Regions from separate parts of the Homo sapiens genome. Here regions 2 and 3 are each linked to region 1. The links are contacts of gene promoters, found by promoter capture Hi-C in human tissues and cell types (Jung and others, 2019). All regions are on one chromosome and are shown on one strand. The core of a region is centred on a gene start or on the middle of the fragment in contact, and the rest is flanking DNA. Distances in the headings are between cores, read along the strand shown. Region 1 holds the start of NR5A1 (nuclear receptor subfamily 5 group A member 1). Region 2 overlaps ADGRD2 (adhesion G protein-coupled receptor D2). Region 3 overlaps NR6A1 (nuclear receptor subfamily 6 group A member 1).

Region 1 (4,301 bases), core at 1,088-3,587:
CTCCCCCCAAGCCCGGCCCGCGCCGGCACCCTCTCCGCAGTCCAGCTCGAGTCTTCGCCCTCATCCTCCAGGCCCCCCAGCCGCAGCCCGGCTCCCCGGACCCCGAGCGCGGCCAGAGAGCTGCGGAGCCCGAGTGCCCCGCGATCTGGGCAGGTATAGGGCAGTGGGGGCCTTGGGTCACCCGCCTGCAGTGGGAGGAGGCAGCTCCTGTCTGTGAACCCAGCTGGGTCGTGGCGAATGCCACGCGGGTGGCTGGTCGCACTACAGCGTGGAAGTGGGTAAGGGCGAGTGGCGACCGTGGCCGAGGCTCGGATTCACGGGTGGAAGCCAGATTCTCCCATGGGGCCCACCACATCTCCTCACTCGAGCCTGTAGCAGCTCTCTCCCCGTCTCGGGTCTTCAGTTGCCGCATCTGTGAAGTGGGTAGATGACCGCTCTTCCTCGCTAAGGGTGGGTCGTGAGGATGAACCCAAGCAGTAGGGGCAAAGCACGCGTGTGGCCTGGCGGAAGCGCTCAGTGGCGCCCCTCTGGGGAGATCTGGGGCGAACCCCTTCTGCTCGCTAGCCTCAGGTCGCTGGGCTGGAAATGGGACTCGTGGAAATCCCATTTTACAAATGTCCGAGGCCTGGGGGGACCCGAAGCCTCTACGGGCGCAGGAGCTGGGAGAGGAGCCCGGAGGCAGGGCCCCGCTGCTCCCCTCGGAGCTCTCACGGGGGGGTGGGGCGAGGAAGAAAGCGCTGGGCGGTCTTGGGGACAAAGGGGTTCCCGGGCCTATGGGCCAAGCAGTTGCTCTGGGCTAGGGACCATCCGCGGGGCCACTGTTTTTCAGCTGGAGAAACGGACCCGAAAGGAAGGGGCCTGCTTGCATCCTGCCTCCGCCCCCGCTGGCACCTGGGGTCAGAGAGAGTTTGGGGACCATGAGGCCAAAAAGCTGCGATCTTCAAGCAGGAAAATACCGCAATTTTGCATTGACAGCGGCGCAACCCACCAAAAGGCTCCATCTGGGCTCCCGCCCGCCTGGAGGCCTCGGGCTTCGGTTGGAGCTGGGCCTGGGGCCTGCAAGTTGTGGCCAGAGAACCCCCCGCGCAGACCGCACTCAGCTGGCTCACCCACAGAAGGAGCAGAACCCGCAGACTAGCTGTGCAAGCTCGGGCAAGTCACTTCTCCTCTCTGAAACGAGAGCCTCAGTTTTCTCCGAGCATAAAGTGGAACATGTTGGCTTTACAGATGGGGTACTGCGGTTTCCATGCAAGAATCTTGGATGAGGAGGGAAGAAAGAGCCAGAGACCCTGTTAATCGTACCCCCCGCACCCCCAAACCCCTGAGAAACAAGAGCATCTGCCCGAGCTGGAGGTGGGGGTCACTGCCGCCTCTGAACAGCTCCCCACCACAATGGAGCCCTCAGACAGTGACTGCAGGAGGGAAGGGGGTTGGTGGATGATGGGCTGGGGTGCCCCAGTTGGCTGTTCTAAGGTAGAGCTCACCCGAGGTCTCCTGGAAACCTGGAGCTGGACACACAGGCCCCAGCCGCCGGGGTTGGGTGGGGGCTGGGCTCAGGCCCTTCTCCCTCTATCTCCAATCCCCTCTCCCCAAGGGTTTCTACTCTCACCGGCTGGAAGCCCATGGCTCCTCTGCACTCCAGGCTCCGAGGCACCCACCCCCACAGGTTCCAGGTTCCAGCCCACCGCCTGGGGAGTTCCAGCCCCTCATCCACCCACCCAGGGAGGGAAGCCTAGACCTGGCCCGGCCGCAGAACCCAGGCTGACAGATGGATGCCGGAGACAGACACACGGATACACAGCAAGACTCAGAGAGAGCCACAGAGACAACACAGAAACTCAGGTGGGGGACAGAGCCCCAAGACAGGCCCAGAGCCCTCCAGACACACTCACAGACCTCTAGGCTCAGACCCACACAGCCTGGTGGATGCCTGGCCAGAGACAGCGGGACACCAGCGGACCTCCATGGGGCTTGTGGTCACAGGCCTGGCTCCTCCCATCGGCAGCCCAGGGAAGAAGAGGGGGTAGCATGGTGGGAGGGTGAGTCTGGGAGACCCCTGGCACCTTCCCTGCCCAGAGCAGGGGGCACCGGTCACTAAGTGGAGCAGGCAGTGGCCGGCCCAGGCTGCAGGGAGGCACTGCAGAAGGAGGCTGGCCATTAGAGGCCTGGGCCAAGGCCCTCACTTACGAAGCGGAAGCAGCGCTCTCACACCGGATGAGGGTGGCAGTGGGCACCAGGGGTCCAGGGGGAGGCTCCGGCAGCCCAGGTGGGACGGTGGCGACTGTGGGTGCGCAGAAACCCCCTCACACCACGGCGGGCGGCAGCCGGACAGCAGGCTGGCCCTGTCCGTCCGTCCTCCTCCTCCTCCCCGCCCTGGTGGGGGGGCCACCGGAGGCCCAATTGGTCTCTGCCCCCACGTGACTCTGCAGGCCTCTCGCCTTCTTTGTTGGTGTTTCTCTTCATTTACGTCTATTTTTTCTTCTTCTCCTAAAAGAAAAAAAATACCCCTATCTATCTGGGGGCTGAGGGTGGGGGCGGAGGCCAAGGCACTGCAGAGGCCTTGGCCAGCTGGCTGTTCCAGGCCCGCTGTGGGAGCCCAGAGGCAGGGACCCCACAGAGGCGGGTAGGCAGCCCCGCTTGTTAGAAACCGGGTGGGAGTGGGGCTTGATTTATGGGCTGCTCCCCCACCCGGCCTGCCGCCTGCTCCTCTCTCCTTGTGAATGGCTACCTCCCTGGGGCCTGGCCTGGCATGGTCTGGCCCAGCCCGGACATTGGAGTAGAGTCAGGACAGGCCAGTGCGGAGGCAAGGCCATGGCGACTTGACTAGGCGGCCTGCTGCTTCCACCTCTTTTTCCTCTTCCATCAGGTGGAAGAAGAGGGGGGCCGGAAGGGGAGCAGGTGAGCGGCCTGGACACCTGGTGCGTGCATGCCACGGTGGCCTCTGAATGTCCTCATCTGCTGTGGGCTGCTGATGTTCCCAGTCGATGGCTGGAAAAACTGAGGCTGGGCTGAGACTGCCTCTGAGGCCAAGTGGTGGCTATAGTGGCCCCAGGTTGAACCAAGTATGAAGCTAGTCCAGGATAGGACAGGGTAGCAGGAAGGGGCCCTTATCTAGAAGGCTAGGCCTCCCTAGACAACCTGGGACGTCCCCATCCAATCTCTGGGCCCAGATGGGCTCTGAAATATCCTGTTCCTGTAGGGCCCGGGTTGCAGGGTGTTGTGCCGCTCCCACGGTGACTGGATCTTTTGTGTGTTCCTCTGTTTGTCTCACATTTACTGAGCGCACACTTAGGGGTCAGGCACTGTTCCAGGCACCAGGGATCCCATAGGAAAGAGAAGAAAAGTCTCTGTCCTCAGAGGATTTACCTCCGTGCCTTTCATCTTGGGAGAGCAGGGAGGGGCACAGGGTGACTATGGGGCAGTCACTGTTGAGAACCACCCCTCCTCCCACATATCCCTTCATTGGAGGAAATAAATAAATCACACCCAACACCTCACTTATCTGGAACAAGAGGGACTTTTCTGGATAAGTGAAGTGAAGCCAACTCTCCCTATATATATTTTTTCATGGAAGGCCACTGAAAAAGTAGAAACGCCAACTATATTTAAAACCTATGTGTTTTCCAGCCAGTCACTGTGGCTCATGCCTGTAATCCCAGCACTTTGGGAGGCCAAGGTGGGCGGATCACCTGAGGTCAAGAAGTTCAAGACAAGCCTGGCCAACATGGCAAAACGCCATCTCTACTAAAAAATAGAAAAATTCACCTGGTGTGGTGGCTTGTGCCTGTAGTCCCAGCTACTTGGGAAGCTGAGGCAGGAGGATCGCTTGAACCTGGGAGGCAGAGGTTGCAGTGAGCCAAGATTGTGCTACTGCAGTCCAGCCTGGGCGACAGAGTGAGACTCCGTCTCAAATAAAATAAAATAAAATAAAATAAAATAAAATAAAATAAAATAAAACCTAGTGTGTGTTTTCCTCATTATGCCACTTAAAATTGTGTGTGAACATACAACAATAATACTGATAGACTGTAGTCCCGGCTACTCGGGAGGCTGAGGCAGGAGGATGGTTTGAACCCAGGAGTTGGAGCTGCAGTGAGCTATGATTGTGCCACTGCACTCTAGCCCGGGCAATAGGGTTTTAATAATTAATAATCATTAATTCAATAATAATAATTTTTATAATATAATTTCACCAACAGTCATAGCTAACTGATCGAATATATTCCACCTACAACGTAACAGACAACTTATTCCTCAATGTGCATGACCTTGTAATTATGTCTTTTTCACCTAGAGAAGTT
Region 2 (4,301 bases), core at 963-3,462, 49 kb before region 1:
GCATAACACAGGAGGCTGGTTCTATGGAATGATTCACCATGGGTAGTGAGCTCCCCGTCCTGGGAAGTGTGCAAGCCCATAGTTGATTAGGGATCCGAGGCACTGCAGTAGACTGAGGAAAGCCAGACTGAAGCTCAGTTTTCTTCCCTGGGGAATAGGGATGATCACGCCAGCCTTGCTAAGGCAATGGAGAGGCGTTAGGGATGAACAGTGTGACTTGCCCAGCACAGAGTAGGTGCCCCATGAATGCAGGTTCCTCTCCTCCCTCCCCTGCTCTCACCACCCCCATCCATGGCTTTCCTTTTGGAATCTCAGTGTTGAGCACCCATTACAGGTCTAGCACTGAGCCACAGCAAAGGGGTAGGCATGGCCCAGCCTTCGGAGTGTGCCCTGGTTGGCAAACAGGAGGATGGGGTGGCTTGGGAGATAGAATTGGATAGGTCGAAGGAGGCTGGGGCAGGCAGGGCTTCAAATGTCAACCTGAGGACCCAGGACTTGATCCTAGAGTCCTTAAAGAGCCACGGAGGGTCTGGAGAGGGCAGGACCACCTCCCAGATCATGGAGCATTTATCCCAGCGCTCAGGGCAGGCGGCAGTGGGGTGCAGAGTGTGACAGAGAGCTGAGATGCAGCGTCCTCCCAGGTGATTGGTGGGCCTATGGCCCTGGTGGCGAGTGTGCAGCGCCTGGCACCCCTGCTGAGCACCTCAATGACCTCAGAGCGGCCCCGAATGCGCATCCAGCACCGCCATGCTGGTGAGCCTGCACCCACCTGCCCACACGGCTGGACTCAGACCTCCCTCCTCAGCCCTGGTGACTGGGAGCTGTCTGAACTTCCACAGACACTCCATTCTATTTCCTGCCTTTGCCCATGCTGTGCCCTGCATCCAGAATGCCCTCTCTCCCTCGATCTCCTAGCAAACACCTATACATCCTTCAGAACCCTGTGTGGGCCTCACTCCCTCTAGGAAGCCTTCCTGTTTTAGCTCTCTCCTCCTCTGAGAGACAGTTCCTCCCGCCTCTGTTACCCCAGAACCTTGAACATGTCTTTCATTGCATTTCTGGTAATTACATAATGGAATTATCTCCCTCTATGGGACACTCCTTGAGTGGTAAGGCTGTTTCTGAGCCATCTCAGCATCTTGGGGCCAAGCCCAAGTACACACTCCGTGAATGTTTGTAGCCTGAATGGGGGTGCACCTGTGGTGAAGCTTCAGGTACAAACACGTGTCCTTCGGGTACCCACCAGTTTCTGGTGACTCATCAATATTCAGGTCCTGCCTCGCGGTGACCGCCCCTCCTTCTCAGTGACCCCCTTCCCCTGGAATTGGAAAAGTCAGATTTGCCTTGGGCAAGTTGCTGAACCTCTCTGAGCAGGAATGGTGGCCTCCTAGGCCTATGGCAGGAAGGAGGGATCCAGACCCTGCTAGCTGGGCCTGCTCAGCAGAAAGACCTCACTCCGAGGTCCAGCCACCCAGCCCCATTTACCCCCAGGCCTGGAGGTGCGGAGCTTACGCTTGAGGGAGGCCAGCACGAGGGGCTGCTTATTCACAATGCCTGGTGGGCGTCCAGAGGGGCCCGGCCATATCCACATTCCTGCGAGTGAAGTGAGGCGACTCCTCAGGAAAGGTGGGTGAGGATGAGGGGGTGTCCAGAGCCCTGTTGGGTTCTGGGTCAAACCTCAGCTCTAACTGTCGCTAGCTGTGCTACTCATCTTTCAGATCCTCAGTTTGCTCGTCTGTAAAATGGGCACATTACTACTTGCCTTGTGGCTTATGAGGTTAAAAGCACCCACCACAGAGTGGTGTTCACTTACTCTCCTCCACCGAACCACACACATCTTCCCTCGGGAGTGGGTGGTGGAGGAAGATCCCCTATGCTTGATGCCATGCAGGGGTGGGGGATTAGGGCAAGGGGCAAAGGGCCTTGGAGTTGTGAGGTTCAGCACATGGACTGTGGCTGCTTGGAATTTTGGCTCTTCCACTTCTTAGCTGTGTGATCTTAGGGAAGTCAGTTTACCTCTCTGAGCCTCAGTTTCCCTATCTCTAGAGTGGGGAGAGCATCACCCTCGGGGCCAACTGGTGGTGCTTGCCCAGCCACCGGGTGGTGCCTTGGTGCCCCTTCCTCTCAGCCAGGCCTCTCTGGAGTCACCGTGATCCACAGCTGGTTCACCTCCAGAGTCTTCCAGCACACCCTAGAGGGACCGGACCTAGAGCCCCAGGCCCCTGCCAGCTCAGAGGAGGCAAACAGGGTGCAGAGGTGAGTAGGCGCCACCTGGAGGGCTGTGAGGGCCTGTGTCCCCTCCCCAAGGAAGGCCAAAGCCCCCGTTCTGGTGGGCGCATGTGTCCTTAGCAGCCCAGGGCCCACCCTTTCCCACCCCTGCCCAACACACACACACTTCTGCACCTGCCAGAGGTGAACACGGCTCAACTCCTGTCTGGGGTTCTGGCTTCTGTGTTGGGACTTACCCAAGTTACCAGCAAGTCCCTAAGGCAAGACTGAACCAGGTGCCACAATTCCTGATATCCCTTCGGACACAGAGGCTGCCACCTCCACCGTAGGGGCCTGGGTGACATGCCGCAGCCAGGCACCATCCCTCCTCCACAGCCACCCTTGAAAGCTCCCATTCTTCCCACAGGTTCCTAAGCACCCAGGTGGGGTCAGCCATCATCTCCTCTGAAGTGTGGGACGTCACTGGAGAGGTCAACGTGGCCATGACCTTTCATCTCCAGCACCGGGCCCAGGTACTGGGTGGCGCTTCTGGGAAGCAGCCATCCTGGCGCACGTGTCCTGGTTCAGTTCCCCCAACCCCCAGTATTTATCCAATGGACAACCAAGGCCTAATAATGCACACAAAAGGTACCTGCAAGCCACCTCCATTGTCCTCAAGGGAATGGGAAGGGAAGCGATTGACTGCAGGGTCACCTTATGGCAGGTGCCACAGATACGCAGCCTTCGTTTAATCCTCCAACCGCGCACTTCATCCAAAGCTTGGGAGGGCTGACGTGATTGGCCCCAGCTTGTAAGTGGCAGAGCTGGGATTTCATTCTACGTCTGCATAACTTGAAAACCTGTTAGTTCCCATGGAGTCATTCACTGCAGCATGTGCAGTGAATTCATTCATTCACTCACTGCAGTGTGTGTACAGGGGCCTTCACATATGAATGCGCTTCATACAAATAAAAATAACCTAAATGTCCATCAGTAGGGGACTACTTTAAATGTTTTGTAGGTCCGGGCACGGTGGCTTACGCCTGTAATCCCAGCACTTTGGGAGGCCGAGGCGGGCGGATCACTTGAGGTCAGGAGTTCGAAACCAGCCTGGTCAACATGGTGAAACCCCATCTCTACTAAAAATACACAAAAGTTAGCCAGGCATGGTGGTACACACTTGTAGTCCCAGCTACTAGGGAGGCTGAGGCAAGAGAACCGCCTGAACCCAGGAGGCGGAGGTTGTAGTGAGCCGAAATCACACCACTGCCCTCCAGCCTGGGTGACAGAACAAGACTCTGTCTCAAAAAAAAAAAAAAGTTTTGTAGATATATATGGTCAGCCCTCCATATGGGAGGGTTTCGCCACCAAGGATTCAAGCAACCATGGGTGGAAAATATTCAGAAAAAATAGCATCTGTACTGAACATCTATAGACTTTTATTTTGGGGGTCATAAACAAGACAGTATAACAGCTATTTATATATTTATATTTTATTTCCTAAGCAAGACAGTATAACAGCTATTTATATAGCATTTAAGTTGTATTAGGTATTACAAGTAATCTAGAGATGACTTAAAGTATACAGGAGCATGTGTTTAGGTTATATGCAAATACCATGCCATTTTATATAAAAAACTTGAGCCTCAGCAGGTTTTGGCATCCTTGGGGGTCCTGGAACCAATCTCCCGCAGGTAATAGGGACCAAGTGTGCAATGGAATAGTCAACTGAAAGTTATATAGGGATTGAGGTATTTCTCTATAAACTGACGTGGAAAGATCTCCAAGATATGTTAAATTTCATTTCACGCTTAATACACAAATTTCTTCTCCCTTCTGAAACACTAGAATGTTTCAGAGAAAGCAAGTCTTCTTTGCTCACAACCAGTAATCTTGGACACACACACACACACACACACACACCAACCACAGCTTATCACTCTCTTGTATATATCGTCAGAATGGGGCTGCGGGTGGATTGTTCATGATGTGGAAAAGCGTCCACGCTCTGATTTTTTTTTTTTTTTTTTTGAGACTGAGTCTCACTCTGTCACCCAGGCTGGAGTGCAAGTGGCACAATCTCAGCTCACTGC
Region 3 (4,301 bases), core at 859-3,358, 42 kb after region 1:
TATCTCATGTGATCCTCACAACCACCTTGGAAGGTGTATTATTCTCCCACGCATTTTTGAGATGAGGAAACAGAGCTCAGAGAGGTAAAGAGATTTGCTCAGGGAAGAACTGACAGAGCTGGAGTTTCCATTTAGATCTTCTGATTCTAAAGCTGTACTTGTTCCTTGATGCCATACTGAACTAACAAGTTTTTCAGCAGGGCTAAAATCTATTTGGCAGTGATTTGATTAAAAAGAACAAATGGCTCCTGTGTGCAGTATTACAGGAATGGTTCTGCTGTAACTCTTATCTAAGTCTAAGAAAGAGAATGGCCCTAGCCATGGCTCTTCTATCTTCTCAGAAGGCACCACAAACACTTTTTCTGCTTTGGAACTCATATGCCTACCATTCTTCATTTGCTTGGGCTTAGGCAGTCAACAAAACCCAGAAACCATAAATAACAAAGCTAACTACATCAAAGCTCCACTCAAAACCTGTCGGTGGTGCCTTTGGTTCATGGGCCAAATCTAAGCTCCTTAGCATGGCATTCAAGACCATCTATCATCTGGTTCTGGTGGGACCCCTCATCCTCATCTCTTGCCATAAATGCTATACCCTACATGTAGATAACTATTTGTTAGTCTTTAAACATGCTATTCTGTTTTACATAGTTCTGTCTCTGCATATGTTGCCTGTACTCAGAAAGAAACTTAAAGTGGAAAAATCTGGCAACATCACCTTCCCTAAGTGACATCATCATAACCAAGTGATTCAAGTTAATATCACCAATAATGGGTATACACTTACATCATGTGCTCTTGATATTATGGTCTAAGAAGGACACAACATCATTTCTATGGCATTCTTGCGAAAAATGCATAACCTGCATGTATTCGTGAGGAAACTGACAAGCCCAAATTAAGGGATATTCTACAAAATACATGACCTATTTGCTTCAAAATCGACAATGTTAATAAAGACAAAGAAAGACTGACGAACTATTTCAGATTAAAAGAGACTGAAAAGACATAAAAACTAAATGTAATGTGATTTCCTGAAGTGGCTTCTAGATCAGAGAAAATAAAATTGCTATAAAGGACACTGAGATGACTGGCAAAAATTGAATAAGATCTGCTAATAAGATAGTACTGTGTCAGGTTAAATTTCCTGATTTTGATAACAGTACTGTGATTGCTAGAAATAAAAGGAACACTGCCTATGCCTCACTCTCAAATGGCTAAGAAGGTGCGTACATGCAGGCACACACACACTTACTTACCTGTGGGAAGTGGGGAAGGTGGAAGAGAGAGACAGAAAGAAGAGCAAGGGGGAGGGGGGAGGGAAAATAATAAAACAAATAGCATGATAAAGCAAATGTGGCAAAATGTTAACAATTGGTGAATTTAGGTAAAGGGCATATGGGAATTATTACTACTGTTGCAACTTTTCTGTAAGCTTGAAATTATTTAAAAATAAAACAGAACAAAATTTTAAAGTCTTAATTTAAAAACAAACAATCTTTTGGCAGGCATATGCTCATGCCTATAATCCCAGCACTTTGGGAGACTGAGGCGGGAGGATTGCTTGAGCTCAGTTTAGCTCAGCTGAACTTGATCCTCAGTTCAAGAGCTGCCTGGGCAACATGCTGAAAACTTGTCTCTACAAATTTTTTTGGTATAATAAAATGTAAAAAAAAAAGTTCATAAGGAAAATGTAAGAAATGTAAAAAAAATGTTTGTAAGGAACACGAACTTTGATTTCTTTAAGATTCTGCTCAAATGTTATCCCTCCTTGAGATTTCTCAGTGCTTCATGCAGACCTCTGTGTTGTGTCCTGGGGCACTTTTTACCCTGGTAAAGTGATATGGCGATGCCACAGGATCACTGCCTCACAATGCCATTCTGCAAACATCACCTCCTCCAAGAAGCTTTCCTTGACCTTTATACTTTTGAACTAGTTAGCAAGTTATGAGACCACAGAGTTAAGGAAATTTTTTATTTTTTCACAGTTACTTAACTAACATGACACCCACCCCCACCACCCGCCACGAAGCTGACTGTATCCTCATTTCTCCTCTGACAATATTTTCCCCATCCCACTTCCTGCCATGGCCCTCCATCACAGTCAATCCATCTAACCAGGGAGCATCCTATCACTACTGAGTTATTTGCTGAAGGACCAACAGAAAAGTAGGACTTGATCATGGCCCTTGAGGGGCTCATTGTCTAATAATGAGGGAAACAGATGAGTGAACAGAGAAAGATAACACAAGATGACCAGGGTTATGGCAGAAGGCATGCAAAAAAGCTGTGGAAGCACAGGAGGGTTATCTGGTGGGGGATGGTGTCAGAGAAGGCTTCTTAGAGGATGTTACAAATAAACGCTGAACCTTGAAGTCAGGAGTAGAAGAAGGGGTGGATGTTTAAACCCCCTCTTCTTCCAGGCAGATGAAACCACATGTGCAAAACAGGAAACATCACTGGGTTTTTGAAGAACTAGGATGGAATGCAGATTGTGAGTGGGGAACACCAAATGGAGAAGGAAAGGGATCAGGTGGCTGATGCCAGTGTCAGAGGGGCCTTGAAAATCACCTTAAGGAGCCTGACTTTATCCCGAAGACTGCAAGATGGGTAAGGAACATACATGGGGGATACTAGTGCAGTAGTGGGGATGGACAGACAGGGCCCAGTCTCCATTCACCACCCTTCTTTAGATCTTCCTCATTGCTTTGCTAAGGAGTTTTCTGACCAGCCAACTTTCAGGTCTGAAAAGATACTCAGTTCCATATCCAAAGATGGAGAACAACAGAGAGCTGTCTTGCACATAGGTGAAAAAGCCCCAGCCACAAATGGCAGCTGCATTTTTTTAATAGTTAATTTTTTAAATTTTGAGGTAAGTTTAGACTTTATACAAGAGTTGCAAAAATAGTATGGAGAGTTCCCATACACCCTCCTCCTTTTAACAATGGACATAATCATGTCTAGTCATCAAAACTAGGAAATTAACCTTGGTACAATACTATTAACCAAAGTACATACTTTATTTTGATTTCTCCAGTTGTTTCACTGATATCTTTTGTTCCAGAACACAATCCAGGGGCCCACATTGCATTTAGCTGTCATGCCTTCATAGTCTTCTCCAATCTGTGACAGCTCAGTCTTTCCTTGTTTTTTTGTGACTTTGACACTTTTCAAATGGGTATTTTGTCAAATGTCAGTTATTCTGAAGAATGTCCCTCAATATGGGCTTGTTTGTTTTCTCAGGATTAGATTGAGTGAACTTACCTCTCTGTGTGTGTATATGTGTGACCTTCTCAGTGTTTCATATCAGGGGGTATATACAATGTTGGTGTGTTTTATTGGTACTGTTAATCTTGATCACTTGGCTAAAGTTATGTCTGTCAGAATTCTCTAAATAAACTTACTATTTTTCCCTTTGTAATTACTATATATTTGCAGACTATGCAAATATTCTGTTTCTGTTGACACTGATGCCACTTATTTAGCATCCATTAGTAGGTTTTGCTTGTCGCAATTATTACTGTGATGTTCTAATGGTGAATTTTTTTTTTTTTTTTTTTTTTTGGTTTGTTGCCCAGGGTGGAGTACAATGGCATGATCTTGGCTTACTGCAACCTCCGTCTCCCAGGTTTACCTTAGCCTCCAGAGTAGCCGGGACTGTAGGCACATGCCACCGCGCCAGCTAATTTTTGTATTTTTTTTTTGTATAGACGGGGTTTCAGCATGATACCAAGGCTGGTCTTGAACTCCTGAGCTTAAGCAATCCACCTGCTCCGGCCTCCCAAAGTATTGGGATTACAGGCATGAACCACTGTGCCCAGCCCTAATGGTGATTTTTCTATTTCCCTCATTCCTTCTACATTTATATTTATATTTATATTTTTAGAGATGGAGTCTCACTATGCTGCCCAGGCTGGTCTTGAACTCCAGGGCTCAAGTGATCCTCTTGCCTTGGCCTCCCAAAGTGCTGGGATTACAGGTGTGAGCCACTAAGCCTGGCCTCCTTCTACATTTGTTAATCAGAATTCACTTAAAGGAAAAATGATCACTTCTCTTTATTTATTCACTTATTCCTTTCGGTATGAACTCATGGATATTTTTATCCTTTGGGTTATAAATTAATCCTACAGTTATTGTTCCTCAAGTTGTTCCACCGTTGGCCATCAGAAGTTCTTTCAGGTTGGCTTCTGTGCCCTTTGATATGCTTCCTTTCTTTTTTTAGAAAGCACTTCCTAGCTTGCTGGCCCCTTAAGATGCTCCAGGATCATTTTATATTTCCCCTACCCCAGCCTTGGAATCAA

Evidence for each region. Contacts are between HindIII fragments. The study calls those that stand out against the background at their distance.
Region 2: a contact is called between a fragment that was not itself captured here and the fragment with the promoter of NR5A1 in region 1, in 2 of the 25 tissues and cell types used here (IMR-90 fibroblasts and dorsolateral prefrontal cortex).
Region 3: a contact is called between a fragment that was not itself captured here and the fragment with the promoter of NR5A1 in region 1, in 1 of the 25 tissues and cell types used here (IMR-90 fibroblasts).

Annotation. Positions count from the first base shown.
Region 1 is chr9:124,505,062-124,509,362 of GRCh38, forward strand. It overlaps NR5A1 (nuclear receptor subfamily 5 group A member 1), which reads right to left and starts at 2,338. Exons shown (of 7, transcript NM_004959.5): 1 at 2,188-2,338. RefSeq lists an enhancer at 1-3,324, promoters at 2,095-2,418, 2,289-2,433 and a cis regulatory region at 2,415-2,420. The HindIII fragment of the contact is 26,734 bases long and covers 1-4,301 here.
Region 2 is chr9:124,455,981-124,460,281 of GRCh38, forward strand. It overlaps ADGRD2 (adhesion G protein-coupled receptor D2), which reads left to right. Exons shown (of 25, transcript NM_001395425.1): 10 at 642-753; 11 at 1,492-1,626; 12 at 2,133-2,256; 13 at 2,636-2,741. Among named protein-coding and RNA genes, the nearest start is that of ADGRD2, 7.7 kb to the left of the region's middle. The HindIII fragment of the contact is 3,941 bases long and covers 243-4,183 here.
Region 3 is chr9:124,546,835-124,551,135 of GRCh38, forward strand. The region is part of intron 3 of NR6A1 (nuclear receptor subfamily 6 group A member 1); the gene reads right to left. Among named protein-coding and RNA genes, the nearest start is that of NR5A1, 42 kb to the left of the region's middle. The HindIII fragment of the contact is 3,043 bases long and covers 588-3,630 here.